Linked DNA regions of Homo sapiens: all the other regions are linked to region 1. The links are contacts of gene promoters, found by promoter capture Hi-C in blood cells and fetal thymus (Javierre and others, 2016). All regions are on one chromosome and are shown on one strand. Each heading gives the region's core, a stretch centred on a gene start or on the middle of the fragment in contact. The rest is flanking DNA. Distances are from core to core; before and after follow the strand shown. Region 1 holds the start of GSG1L (GSG1 like). Region 2 overlaps KATNIP (katanin interacting protein). Region 3 overlaps SBK1 (SH3 domain binding kinase 1). Region 4 overlaps KATNIP (katanin interacting protein). Region 5 overlaps KATNIP (katanin interacting protein).

Evidence for each region. The method cuts DNA at HindIII sites, captures the fragments that hold promoters and counts their contacts. A CHiCAGO score of 5 or more calls a contact.
Region 2: a fragment that was not itself captured here is called in contact with the fragment with the promoter of GSG1L in region 1 in 7 of 17 cell types (M1 macrophages, M0 macrophages, megakaryocytes and 4 more); the score reaches 19.0 in M1 macrophages.
Region 3: a fragment that was not itself captured here is called in contact with the fragment with the promoter of GSG1L in region 1 in 1 of 17 cell types (neutrophils); the score reaches 5.2 in neutrophils.
Region 4: a fragment that was not itself captured here is called in contact with the fragment with the promoter of GSG1L in region 1 in 1 of 17 cell types (megakaryocytes); the score reaches 5.3 in megakaryocytes.
Region 5: a fragment that was not itself captured here is called in contact with the fragment with the promoter of GSG1L in region 1 in 2 of 17 cell types (megakaryocytes and endothelial precursors); the score reaches 6.2 in megakaryocytes.

Annotation. Positions count from the first base shown.
Region 1 is chr16:28,062,322-28,065,021 of GRCh38, reverse strand. It overlaps GSG1L (GSG1 like), which reads left to right and starts at 1,308. Exons shown (of 7, transcript NM_001109763.2): 1 at 1,308-1,946. The coding sequence starts at 1,598. The HindIII fragment of the contact is 8,058 bases long and covers 1-2,700 here.
Region 2 is chr16:27,599,311-27,602,012 of GRCh38, reverse strand. The region is part of intron 2 of KATNIP (katanin interacting protein); the gene reads right to left. Among named protein-coding and RNA genes, the nearest start is that of KATNIP, 51 kb to the right of the region's middle. The HindIII fragment of the contact is 1,396 bases long and covers 617-2,012 here.
Region 3 is chr16:28,321,481-28,324,180 of GRCh38, reverse strand. It overlaps SBK1 (SH3 domain binding kinase 1), which reads right to left. Exons shown (of 4, transcript NM_001024401.3): 4 at 332-2,700. Among named protein-coding and RNA genes, the nearest start is that of SBK1, 30 kb to the right of the region's middle. The HindIII fragment of the contact is 8,524 bases long and covers 1-2,700 here.
Region 4 is chr16:27,736,990-27,739,722 of GRCh38, reverse strand. All of the region lies in intron 14 of KATNIP (katanin interacting protein), which reads right to left. Among named protein-coding and RNA genes, the nearest start is that of KATNIP, 190 kb to the right of the region's middle. The HindIII fragment of the contact is 2,920 bases long and covers 1-2,720 here.
Region 5 is chr16:27,758,866-27,761,565 of GRCh38, reverse strand. KATNIP (katanin interacting protein) reads right to left here. Exons shown (of 28, transcript NM_015202.5): 19 at 1-153. Among named protein-coding and RNA genes, the nearest start is that of KATNIP, 210 kb to the right of the region's middle. RefSeq lists an enhancer at 1,501-1,560. The HindIII fragment of the contact is 2,706 bases long and covers 1-2,665 here.

The DNA.
Region 1 (2,700 bases), core at 59-2,558:
TCTCAGCTTGGGCAGAATTCAAATGAGCTCTTATAATCAACATGCAATTAATTGTTGCACGCCCTGAGCATCTGGGCAGTAAGTGCTGTGCAGCGCGAAGGGAGTTCAGGGAGCGTGGTCATCTTAGAGCAGAGGTGGGGACGGGGTTGCACACAGTTTCCACGTTGCACAGGAGAGCCTGAAGAGGTTTGTCTGAGTTTGGTCAACTGATCTTGGTTCAGATGTCAGTAACAGTGAATTATTAATTGAGTCTACTGTGTGCCAAATGCTTTTTGCAGCCATGATCTCATTACAGCAGCCCACTGTGATATACCTTGAAGGGGGGGGGGTCCTCCCTTTTTTATAGTTATGGAAATTGAGGCTCAGAGAGGGTAAGTGACCTGTTCAAAGCCACACAGCTGGTCAAGCCCTAGATATGCTTGATCCCAAAGTCAGTATGTTTGGCCACCCTGCCCCCACCCGAATCTTGAAGATTCTACCCACATTCACATGGTGTGCATGTGAGCAGGGTTGGCAGCCCCTGTAGGGCACCACTGCCTGGTAGCTGCAATAACTTTGTGGCCGGCATGGGCCCTCCTAGGGTTCTGCTGTTTGGGATCTCAGGTGGGTGCAGTGGGCTGTCTGGGGTACCCTGTTGCCACTCTTCCTGCAGTTGCATGCCATGGTTGGGAGCCCAGATGACAGTTTCATCCTTGGAGGGGAGCTCTTCCCAGATGCTGGAGGTGACACCCAGGAGACAGAAAAACGTTTCAAACCCTATAACCCAATACTCCAGGAGGGGCGCCTCCTGACAGATTCTGCCACTCCAAGTCCAGCATGGGTTGTCTTATCCAGGGGGTCTTGCAGCTCCCTGGCTGTGGGAAGCCCTGCAGGCTCTGCTGTTTAGAACCTTTGGAAAAACTCCTTTCTCAGGGTCTGGTGCGGGGGTCCTTTTGGGGATCCCCTTCTGGGACAGGGTCCTGCTGGTCCGTGTCCCTCTTGGGGAGCCCCAGCAGGCTCTGCCCTTGTCTCCTGGGGCAGGGCCTCTCTGGGTCTCATGAGATGCCCGCTCCCGGCGGGTTTTGTTGCCCCACGTCCGCCGTGGGGATCTTTTCTCAGGAGCGCCTTGCCTGGGATTCTCCTTGCGTCTCAGACCCTCACCCTGGCTCGGATTTCTTTCGGGGGCGTCCCTCCACTCCCAGGCCCCCGCCCGCGCCCGGCGTGGCGGCCCCCTCTCCCCGTGCGGGCGGGCTCCGGAACAGTGTCGCCGGCCGCCTGCAGGTGTCTCCCCACGGAGGGGCGCGCGTCCCTGCGCCGTGGCCGCTGCCAGGCGCCAGCGGCTCCTAGCCGAGGTGCACTCGCGCTCCGGGCTCCGGGCGCGCCGTAGCCGCTCCTCCACCGCCGCCCGCCCCGCCAGCCCGCCCCGCACGCCCCCCGCGCCGCGCCCCCACCCCGGGGTTGGGGGGGGCATGGGCCCGCGCCGCGTCCGCCGCCGCCGATCTCAGGCACCCGAGCCCCGGGGCGCGGCGGGCAGCGGCCGCTGACGCGGGGCGCCAGCTGCCAACTTCGCGCGCGGAGCTCCCCGGCGGTGCAGTCCCGTCCCGGCGGCGCGGGCGGCATGAAGACTAGCCGCCGCGGCCGAGCGCTCCTGGCCGTGGCCCTGAACCTGCTGGCGCTGCTGTTCGCCACCACCGCTTTCCTCACCACGCACTGGTGCCAGGGCACGCAGCGGGTCCCCAAGCCGGGCTGCGGCCAGGGCGGGCGCGCCAACTGCCCCAACTCGGGCGCCAACGCCACGGCCAACGGCACCGCCGCCCCCGCCGCCGCCGCCGCCGCCGCCACCGCCTCGGGGAACGGCCCCCCTGGCGGCGCGCTCTACAGCTGGGAGACCGGCGACGACCGCTTCCTCTTCAGGAATTTCCACACCGGCATCTGGTACTCGTGCGAGGAGGAGCTCAGCGGGCTTGGTGAGTGCGCGCGGGCGGCGGCCAGCTCGGCTCCGGCTCCCCCGGGGCGGCGCGGCCATCGAGGCCCGAGCCCCGGACCCGTTCGCCCTCCTCCCGCCGCCTGGGCCCAGCTCCCAGCGCTCCGCCTGGCTAGGGGCGACGTTCCGGGGCAGGGGGCGCGCGCCGTTCCGGGGCCGGGGACCAGCATGGGGGGACGTGCGGGACGCCCCGCCGTGGAGAGGTGCAAGGCAGAGCTCCTACCCGCTGCGGACGCCCCGCGGCTTTGGGGACGCTCCCGCGCCCCGGGAAGGCGCCCACCCCCGCTGCCGGTCGGAGGGGCGCGCGCTGCTTTCCGCTCCTGAACTCATCTCCACGCTCGCCCCCTCCTCCTCTTCCTTTCGCGGGGCACTAGATGCCCCCACCCACCCCGGAACGCCCCTGGGGGTGGGGGTGATGCAGGGACTCCTGCTACCAGCCGCCCCTCCTGCCGCAGATCCACAGACCCGGGAGCCTTCCACCCCCATCGCCAACCCACGCCGAACCTCCCAGACGGGAGTGGGGAGTGGGGGAGTCCCGCGGGCTCCCGGAAAGCCGCACCCGCCCAGAGGCACCCCTATTGCCAGACGCCAGGGAGCCCTCTGTATCCTGGCCCCCTCCTGGGAGAGGCAGGCTAGGGAACTGGGGACAGCTGGGCAAACTCCGGGTCGAGGAGTCCAGGAGGGCTTAGCTTAGCACAAGGCTCCTATTAGGTTCGGTGGGGGACTGACTTTTCAGA
Region 2 (2,702 bases), core at 65-2,564, 460 kb after region 1:
GACTGGCCACCAGGCCTGATGGGAGGAGAGAGGCAGCCACCCTCCGCCAATCTTTGCCTCCATCCACCTGATTTCCATCCAAGAACTTTTCCTTCTAATGAAATGGACCTCCCAACACAGGGCATCTATCACCACCAGCCCAGCAGGCAGGGCTGTCTGAGTAGATGATCATTCCCCCACACCCCAGGGCTGCTGCCGGCCCCCTGAAGAGGGGAGGGCACTCCCTTCCTATTGATCCTACACATATTCCTTGTGCTTCTCCTATGGGTTGGGCATCGGGCAAGGGCCAGAGATAGACAGACAAGTGTAATCTGGCCTCGCCACCCTCCTTGACCTCATTTCCACCTTCATCCTAATAGCCACATGGTCCTTCTGGCTCTTTCTCAAGGTCATTGCCGGCCGGGCGCAGTGGCTCATGCTTGTAATCCCAGAACTTTGGGAGGCCAAAGCAGGAGGATCACTCGAGCTCAGGAGTTCGAGGTCAGCCTGGGAAATACCTCGAGAGCACCCGCCCCACTCCCCCTGCCCCGTCTCTATAATAAGTAAATAAATAAAGGTCATTGCCTCTGTTGTTCCCCCTGCCTGCAATGTTTCCCTCCTTGCTCTAGGGTAAGCTTGTTTAGCAGCATCCCCTCTTCCAGGGGCCTCTCCCAACAACCTCTGTCCCTGTCTGCCTCCTCACCCAGTAGCACCTCTCACTCTCTGAAAGTATCTCTGTTCATTTACACATGGCCTCCCCCATCAGGACGCCAGACCCACGAGAGCAGGGACAATGCGAGCTTGCTCACTGCTGTGTCTCCCAGTTCCTGGCATGTACAAGGAGCTTATAAAGGATTTGCAGAAAGGAAAGAACACGGAGGAACAGAAGGAAAGGGAGGAAGACAAAAATCCCTGGCCTCAAGGAACTTGGAGTAGAGAGATAGAAATGGAACAATTGCTCCAGTGCAGTGTGGCAGATGCTATCAAGAGGAGGCAACTGAGGTTGGGTGCAGTGGCTCACTTCTGTAATCCCAGCACTTTGGGAGGCTGAGGCGGGTGGATCACCTGAGGTCAGGAGTTTGAGACCAGCCTGGCCAACATGGTGAAACCCTGTCTCTACTAAAAAAATACAAAAAATTAGCTGGGCGTGGTGGTGTGTGCCTGTAATCCCAGGTACTCGGGAGGCTGAGGCAGGAGAATCGCTTGAATCTGGGAGGCGGAGGTTGTGGTAAGCCGAGATTGCGCCACTGCACTCCTGCCTGGGAAACAAGATTAAAACTCCGTCTAAAAAAAAAAAAAAAGAGGAGGCAGCTGTGCCACAAGGGCAGTGGGTGGAGTGGAGGGGGCCTGGGATTACTGGCGGGGCTGGGTGGGCTTTGCAGAAGAGAAAACAAGACACCGAATTGTAAAAGAGCTCACCAGGAGAATGGGGGAGGGCGGAGCAGGGGCCAGAAGGGAAGAGTGTTTGTAAAAGCAGATGCCAGGAGACTCCAGGAGCCTGTCTTGGGCTGGGGTGGAGAGTGATCAAAGCCTGCTGGCTGATCCCAGGGGACGGCTAGAGAGTCTTTGCTTCTGACATCCCAGGTATGCTTAAGGGCAAAGCCTGTTTGTGCTAACGGCAGGTGCTGAAATATCATTCTCAAGTGTAGGGCAGTGCAGTGGGGTTCATGGGCCTCAAACTGGATTAACTCTCACATACTGCAGTCAAGATTTTGCCATGTGAGACAATGTTCATCTAGGAATTTAAAGGCGACAGCAAATGCTCATTCTCTCTGACCCTGGTCCCCTCCCCGACCATGTGGGACTGCGTTCCTTTCCCTCCTCCCTCCTCACCCCACTTCTTTCCTACCTTCTTCCAGATTTACTAAACACCTCCTAATCCATGCCAGGGCATGTCCCCAGCCTCATGGAGCTGGTGGTCTAGTGAGGAAGACAGATTTTAATCAAATGACCTACCAAATGTATGACGTCAGTGCTCGGAAGGTGGGGGAGGCGGGGGCGATGAGTGGCTTTAAAAGGGGGCAGGTGAAGCTTCGCTGCAGAGGATAACAGAACCAAAACCTGAAGGATGAATGGGTTAATTGTGGAGGAGAGGGGAGAGTGCTCAAAGCAAAGTGGAGGCGTGCTAAGGCAGCAGACGCACATGAGCACAGAGCAGAAGGGACAAGGCAGGCACGTGGGACAGAGACTGACACGGGACTGAGGCGGATGGACCACAAACACCGCGTGCCCACGGCAGGAGTTCTGCCCTGAGACTCCAGACCACTGGGAAGCCACATGGTGCTCCTGGAGCGGACAGCGGAAGTTGGAGTAAGAAAGGGGTTGGGTGGTGGAGAATGGGTGCCAGGCTGCAGGTGAGAGGCTACCGCAGGTGCTTAGATGAGAGGACTCAGCCACGTGGAGGGTCAGGGAAGAGAGGCTTCCAAGGTGAAGGCACAGGACTTGGTGACAGGCTGGAAAGAAGAGACAAGGGAGAGGGTCTATAAGGATGATTCCAGGGTTTCTGGCCTGCATCATTGGAGGGACGGGGCACCATTCATGGAGCAAAGGCTGGAGGGAGAGCAGGTCTGAGTGTGGCCTGGCGCATGAATGCAATCTGCTCTCACCACTCTCCTGACCTCATTCCCACCTTCCCCACCCCCATCTCAATAGCCACTCAGCTCTTCTGGCTGCTTCTCAAGGTCATTGCCCGTGTGTTGACTGCCCTTGCAAGGTCATTGCCT
Region 3 (2,700 bases), core at 10-2,509, 260 kb before region 1:
ATGGCGCGATCTCAGCTCACTACAACCTCCACCTACCGGGTTCAAGCGATTCTTCTGCCTCAGCCTCCCAAGTAGCTGGGAGTACAGGCGTGCGCCATCGCGCCCAGCTAATTTTATATTTTTAGTAGAGATGGGGGTTTCACCATGTTGGCCAGGCTAGTCTTGAACTCCTGACCTCAGGTGATCCGCCCGCCTCGGCCTCCCAAAGTGCTGGGATTATAGATGTGAGCCGCTCCGCCCAGCCCAAGTTTTCAGTTTCTAGAGTACCTGTGTGCCCCCACCCCCACCGCCCTCTCCACCCCAAACTTGAGAAAAGACAGCCACCCAGTGGTCATTTTTCTAAACTTTTGTTTATTTTTATAGCAATCGTCATGTTTAGAGAAGTAAATAACACATTTAAAAACCTTCTCAGGGCCAAAGGATGCCAGAGTATTTACAAACACATGGAGGAAGGGCGGCAAGACATGAGGGGCTGGGGCTCTGGGGCTAGGACTCTACCCAGGACCCCGCCCCAGGCCCTGAGCCAAGCATGGACGCTGATGTCAGCCACCAGGACTGTCCCACTGGCCACAGTGTGGGCTCAGGGAACATTCTGGCAGCCGTGGGGTTCTGTTCAGTGGGCCTGGTGGAGACCCTCTAGCCGACCTGTGGCCCCGCCTCCCATCCAGGGGGCTTCCCGTGCCCCACAGGCCAGCTCAGAGGGGTCTCTGGGAAGCACCGAAGGACAGGGGGCAGTGTGGGGGACACAGGGTCTGGGACAGAGACACGCACACACATACACACATACACACATACACACTGTACCTTCACAGAAGAATCGCAACAAGGGAGATTTTTTGTGTGATTTTTTTTTTTTTGTCTTCTAAGTCTTCATGTCTACAGTGTTATTTTTTGCTATTATTTTTTGTTTCTTCGACAGTGACATAAACTGAGGTAAACATCTGTGACCAACACCTCTCCTAAGGGGCAAAGGGTCCCAGCCCGACCAGCAGAGGAGGTGGCAGCACCAGGGCCCCAACCTGGTGTTCCGGTTCTGCTCTGGGGTCAGGCTGGAGGCTGGCCCTCTGGGTGCCTCTGGGAATGAGGGGGCTGGGCTACATAACTATGGTCCCCTCCCAACTCTAACATACTAGATACTACAACGGCTGGGGAAACTCCCGAACAGGATCTTAACAGAGAGAGGGAGAGAGAGAAAGAGAGGAGAGAGAGAGAGAGAGAGAGAGAGAGAGAGAGAGAGAGAGAGAGAGAGGGAGAGAGAGAGCGCGCGCGAGAGAGAGAGCGAGCACGGCAAGGGACGTCTACTGTGGAATCTCGATTCCTAGTTATTGCAGGAGAGATCAGGATGTCGCGAGGCCTAAGGCAAAAGGAGAAGTCGCGGCTGGGAGAGGCAGCCCCGATGGGCTCCAGGTGGGCCGGGGGCAGTGACCAGGGCCTTCTCTGAGACCTGGTCCTTGGAGGGAGTGGGGGTTTGCTACTTACCTGGCATGTGGAGGGCCCATACCCACTGGGGAGGTGGAGTCTGGAGAGGAGTGGGCACAGCAGGGAGAGTGGGGCCAGGCCCTGGGGCCACCCCACACTGTTTGTAAACTGGACCCGGGCAGGGCAGGGGACCTATAGCCCTTTTTCAAGGTGGGAATGAGTGGGGAGTGGAGAGGTTGGGGCACCAGCCAGAAAGTGCTCGGAGTTCACTCTGGCCGGCCTGGCCCATCAAAGAGCCCCTCAAATGGCCCAGAACCCCAGGAGGGACCCTGGCAGGGGACCCTGACAGGGACAGCCTCACCCATGTGGTGCTTATTGCGGGGGTCCCGGGCCTCCACAGAGAGGGGCAGGGGGTCAGGCGGGGCTGCTGTTGTCTCTGTTTTGCTACCTGGGGGCCTGAACCAACCTGCAGGGGCCTCCTTGCCGGATTTCCTGAGGGCTGTGGTGCAAGGCAGGCCTGGGCGCCCTGGGACAGCTGCCTGGGAGGACCAGGGTGTGGTGGGGGGGCCGCTGGTGAGGGGTCTGGACGCACAGTCACTGAACGCAAAGGATGGCACCCATGCGTCTGCACCCTACACATGTGCACACACACCTAGTCACACACTCGCCCCCTGGTGTCCACCGCCCCCATTCTCACACCCACACATGCAGGTCCTACGCCCTGCACACTCCAGCGCCAGAAAAGTGGGAGACGTGAGGATGGGGTCTTGGAGGTTGGCATGTTTGACCCCAAGAAACCCAGGAGAAATTTCCAGCACGAACCAGCTCGCCACCTGCTGGAAGCCCAGGCTACTACGTCTAGGCTGTGTGGCAAGGGCTGGGAGGACCCGGCAGAGGTCCCTGGGCCTGGGACAGTGCGGCTGGCAGGGGGAGCTGGGACCTGCTCTCGGCTCCACACTAACTCCCCTGCCCTAAGGATGGGGGCAGCTGAGACCCCTGCCCTGTGAGCCCTTCTATCCCCACAAGTTGTCAGGACAATCCCTTGTGGTTAGGGGGAGGGGCGGGGAGAGAGCTCTATTTCTCAGCCAGTGCCAAGCTACCCTCCCTCCTGGGCTGTGATTTCATTTGTGCAATGGGGGTGTGCAGGAGTCACTAGCTTCTCGGGGCCTGTCCCGCACATACACGCACTTATGCGACATCCAGACATTTGCTACATTTTCCAAGGGCTTGGCCTCTCCCCTCCAGCCTCCAGAAGGGAGGGCAGGACACAGCTGCCCTTCG
Region 4 (2,733 bases), core at 11-2,510, 330 kb after region 1:
GACTTCACATTGCCACCAGAGTTCATTTCCTACCAGAGCAAATCTGTCCAGTCATTCCCCTGTGTGAAATCCTTCATGTTTTTTCACAGCCTATAGCAGTGTTCTTTAAAGTCCAGTTCCTGAGACCATCTGCGTCGAAAAGCCTGGAGTGCTTATAAAACAGCTTTCCTGGCCTCCGTGGGCATCATAATTGGGAGACCGTAAAAGCAGAGGCTGAGACAAGGACTCGGGTGCAAGTCGAGTATTTGGCAGGTGATTCCAAGAGGAAATGGGGAAAGCAAGATAGGGCAGGAAAAAGGAAAAACCCAGTTTTTTTGAGCTGGTCACTGCTGTGGCCAACTGGTGCTCCTTCCCACGGGGGCCCTCTGCGGCACTCCAAGATCTCACTTTCCCCAACCCTAGTCTTCACCTATCTTAAAAATGGCTCCATCATTGAAGCAGTGGCCAAAAACCTCGTGGCCCCCTTGATCCCTCTCTTTCTCACTTGCCCATCCAATCCGCCAGCTGTCCCTCGCCTCTCTCTCCAGAACACTTCCTGGGTCTGACCTCTTTACCTGGAATGTGCTGCTGCCTTCCTTGCCCAGGCCACCAGGGTCTCTACCAGAGACACCACTGCCGCCTCCTAATTGGTCTCTCTGCTTCCACTCTGCGTTGTCTCCTCCAAATCCCTGCACTCACACTTCATTTTCTATGCAGCAGTGAGTTTTTTTTTTTTTAACTGAAATCAGATCATGGGAGTCTTCTGCTTAAATGCATGTCGCAAATGTCTCTCCAAGACTGGGACATTTATCCACTGCTTGTTGAAGGCTGCCCTCAGGGCACTGATGCCCCAACACATGCACGAGCTGAGTGTGCTCCCACGGCAGAGCACCCCACGAGCACCTGAGGCAGGGCACTGTCCACATGCGGGGACTGTCCCATGTTCACGGCAGCTGCAGTTGGAAGGGAGCCAGGAGGATGCCGTGTGAGGACCACTGCCTCAAGGCAGCCTGTAGGTAACTTCTGGACTCAGAACAAGTTCTCCGGATGATTTCTTCACACGACGGGGTGCAGAACCATGCCGATGATGGGATAAATTCCAAAGCTCTCCACATGACATACAGTAACCTTCACAAATGGTCCCCACCTCGCTCTCCTCTCTCACTGCCAGCCTAAATGCCCCTATGTCACGCAGGTTCAACTCTCTTCCTTCCATGCTTAAGATAAAATCACATCTCCTGCTACTGTTTCACTTGTGTCATCCTCTTTACAGCAAAACTCTTTTTCCAGCTTTATCGGGGAATAGAATACACACCCCATACAATAAACTGTGCATATTTAACGGGTACAGCTTGATCAGTTTTAACATGTGTCTACGCCAATGAAGCCATCACACTCAAGAGAACAAACGTACCTATCACCCTAAGGTTTCCTCGTGCCCCTTGGTAACCCCTGTCTCCCCTTCCTCCTTCCCTGGCTCCAGGCAACCACCCACTTATGGTCCCTCCCTATATACTGATCGTCCTTTCTGGAATGTTTACATAAAGGAATCATGTTGCATGTAGTCTTTTTTGCTCGGCTCTTTCAGTCACCATAACTGCTCTGAGATTCACCTGTGTTATGGGAACTGATAGTTCCTTTCCTTTCTACTGCTAAGGAATATTCCATTGCAGGGCCCCCCGCATGATCTGTCCGTCACCCCGTCAGTGAATCTCTGAGTGTCACTGTCCCCGTGGGCTCCTCCTCCCACTACCCCTTGTTCCTCCTCCCGTTGGGCTTCTGCCTCCACCTCCACATGGAACCCACCTGGCCCGGGCACCTGTAACTAGGGTGACGGGCCATCCTAGTTTGTCTGGGACAATTCTGATTTATATCTGTTATCCTGGTGTCATTACTAATGACTCTCAGAAGTGTCTGGTTCCTAAAGTAAATTACAGGGTCCAGCTGACTGCCATACGCAATAGGAATTTCTCCTAGGAGTGGGTGGGTGTGGCGGCTCGGCAGTACTCGGCAGCTTCCCCTCCTTTGCGATGACTTTCCTCCCTGGGGCTTGTGTGGCTCTGCACCCACCTGGCTTTCCTCCTGCCTCGCTGGCTGAGCCTGCCCGACTCCTGGGTTGCTTCCTTTTCTTCGGCTGCACTTTGAACGACTAGGCTGCCCAGGGCTCAGTCCTAGGCCTCCCGAGTGCTCTTCCCTTGCTCTCCAGGTGGTCTCATTCAGGTCCCAGGCTCCCAGTTATTTTCATCTCCAACCCTGACCTCTCCACCAAGCCCCAAGTGACTGCTTGGCCTCTCTTCCTGGATATCTAACAGGAATTCCAATATAAAATGCCCAAAACAGAATGCTCTCTTTTTTTTTTAAGAGACAAGGTCTTGCTCTGTTGCCCAGGCTGGCGTTACAGTGGCTCGATCAGGGTTCACTGCAACCTGAATTTCTGGGCTCAAGTGACCCTCCCATCTCAGCATCCTGGATAGCTGGGACTACAGGTACACGTCACCACGACCAGCTAATTAAAATAAATTTTTTTTTGTAGAGACGGGGTCTCACTATGTTGTCCAGGCTGGTCTTGAGCCCCTGGGCTCAAGGGATCCTCCTGCCTTGGCCTCCCAAAGTGCTGGGATTACAGGTGTGAGTCAATGTGCCTGGTGTGCCTGAAACAGAATTCTGAAATCACTTTCTCCACACTTAGTCTTAAACTATCTTAAAAATGGGTCCATCATTCGAGCGGTTGCTAAAAAGCTTGCCGTCCCCTCG
Region 5 (2,700 bases), core at 63-2,562, 300 kb after region 1:
AGTACTCGGGGAGCTCATTTAAGTCTCTGGGGGAAGCAGAGATCTGGTGCAGGTGGATGGGCAGCGCCTGGCCCTCCTTGCCCACCACTTCCAGGCCAGTGAGCCCCAGGTAGTGCAAGTCTCCCCAGGAGGCAGTGAAATTCAGCTGAAGGCCTGCAACAGGAAGAGAAGTGGCCCATTAGCACCAGAGGCTCCAGAGGAGGCATCTAAAATGAAGACAGGAAGAGGAATGCTATTCGGCCTCTATATTCTAGCAACTTCAACCCAGACCCAAAGTGCCTTGCAGGTGGGCTCTGTGGCTTTCCTCTAGGTGGCCTTGGGCCCAGGCCACTGTCAGTGCTCAGGAAACAACGGTAAGCTGCATGGGCGAGGGTTAAACCTGCACATAGCCCTGAGTCCTTCCTCCGCCTACCAGATTGTGCTGTCCCACCCGACACTGAACATCCTTGGTGGCTTCCCATGCTTTCTGGCCAACAACGCATTCCCCATCAGACTTCTATCTACTTCTCTGACCTCACTGTGCACCAGGGACCCTAGGCCCCACCCAGGCTGTCTTTCAGTTTCTCGTATTTATATTCCTCTCTCTCCAACCACAGGGCCTTTGAATGTGCTGTCACCCCTCCCTAGAATTCACATGGCCTGGTTGACTTGTGAGCACCCTTCAGATCCCAGCTCCCTTCCTCAGAGAAGCCCTCCTGAGTTCTTTGACCAGGTCAAACCTCCATTGATAACCTGCCATGCCACTGTACACTTCCCTTTCCAAGCCCTGGTCACTGCTGTAATCGCGTGATCTTGGTAAATACCCACTTGCCCCGCCAGATGCCTAACTCCTTGAGGGAGAAACCCCATCTGTTTCTCTAAACCACTGTGTCCTGAGCCTGGCATGGTGCCTGGCACACAGTAGGAGCTCAGTACAGATGGAATGATTAAACCAGCAACTACATGGAGACTTGTATCAGTAAGCCCCAGCGCTGGAAACTGACATTTTATGCAAATTGGCTGCTATCACAAACATTCACGTGGGCTCAGAGTAAAGGAAGTGACCTAGGGTGATACCGCCATCCTTTTGCCTCTGCTCCCATCCTCTCTCGATCAGAGACCATTTAGAAGTGACCTTCTGTGGCCCTGGGGCAAAACAGCCCAGATGTCATTCATTTGCCCAGGAAACTCAAATGGAATGAATCTCTTGATCAAGCCCTGTCAGATAATTGGCTGGAACGTCTCTTTCCTTAACGGTGTCTCATTAGAGCAAGACCAAACACAATAAACCCTTCTGCCCTTAGAGAATTTGCCGCATATTTTAGCACCCTTTTGGGTAGCTAAGTGTAAGACTCACTCTTTGCAGCGTTCACAGAAATGCCAGCACCACAGAGCAGGCAGAAGGAAGCAGGGTGTCATCTGGCACCACCCCCTTGCAGCTCAGATGAGGAACTGGAAGCCCAGAGAGGTGAAAGGACTTCTTTGTGGCCATGAAGAGGGGCTGGGTCACCTGACCTCCCTGGAGCTTGGTTTTCTCTCCCACGCCCCTGACATCTCCCAACATACTTTTTGTAACTTAGCCCTCAGATCCTTTTCCTCCTTCGTGGTGCCAAGGTAACTCTGAGCATCTCTGGGGCAGATGAAAAAAACATGTGGCCAGCACGGCACCCTGCACATGGGCTTCTCGCCGCATCATTCACGTGCAAAGTGGCTACAAGCTCGTCCCATCCCGTGTCCCTGCTGTTGCAATGTGATTTTGCCCCTCATCCCATCCAGAGTTGGAGTTTCCTTCTCTGCTCCTGACTCTGGGTCACGTGATTTGCTTTGAACACTGGGACAGAAGCCCACGTGAGGCAAGCAGAGCCTGTAAAGCACTCGGGGCTTGAGACTGCCATGCGAGGCAGCCCAGCTAACCCAGACACCTGTCTCTCTGGCCAGCAGCCTCCCCACTGCCAGACGGGTGGGTGAAGATGTCCTAGGTCATTCAGCTGCTGGTCCACCTCCCTGCTGATCAGGAACTCGAGCAGGCCCAGTAGAGGCCAACCAAGCTGGCTCACCCAGAGCTGCCCAGCCAAGATACTGAATTACCAGTCAGTCATGAATATAATTCATGGTAGTTGTGTTAAGCCAGTGGATTTTGGATTGGCTTGTTCGGCAGCAAAAGCTAGCTGACACATTCCTTCTCAGCATGAGTCAGTGTTCCAATGTCATTTCCTGAGAGGCCTTCCCTAATAACCAGAGCTCAAACAGCCCTGCTCACCCCATCACTCTCTACATCCTTACCCTGCTCGCCTTGTTGTTTATAGCACTGAATGCTTCCTGACAATCGAGTCTACATTGATTTGCTTATTTGTCTCCATCAGTCTCCCCCACTAAGACGGAAGTTCCCTGAGGCCAGGACTCTGCTGGTTTTGTTCACTGCTGTATCCCCGGAGCCCAGAACAGTGCTTAGTAGATGTTCAATGAATGTTTTTAGTAAAAATTTTAAACACATGACTAATTAACAAGTAGGGCTTCAGTAGATATCTGCAAGTAAATGAGACAAACGAAAACTATTGGGTTTTACCAACTTCACAGTCAACAGTCAACGAATATTTATTGGTCATCTACTGTGTACCAGAACCTATTTTTGGCATAAGAGCTGCAGGAATGAACAACAGAGCACAATCTCTGAACTCAAGAAGCTTGCATTCTAGCAAAGACTGTCAATAAGCACATAAT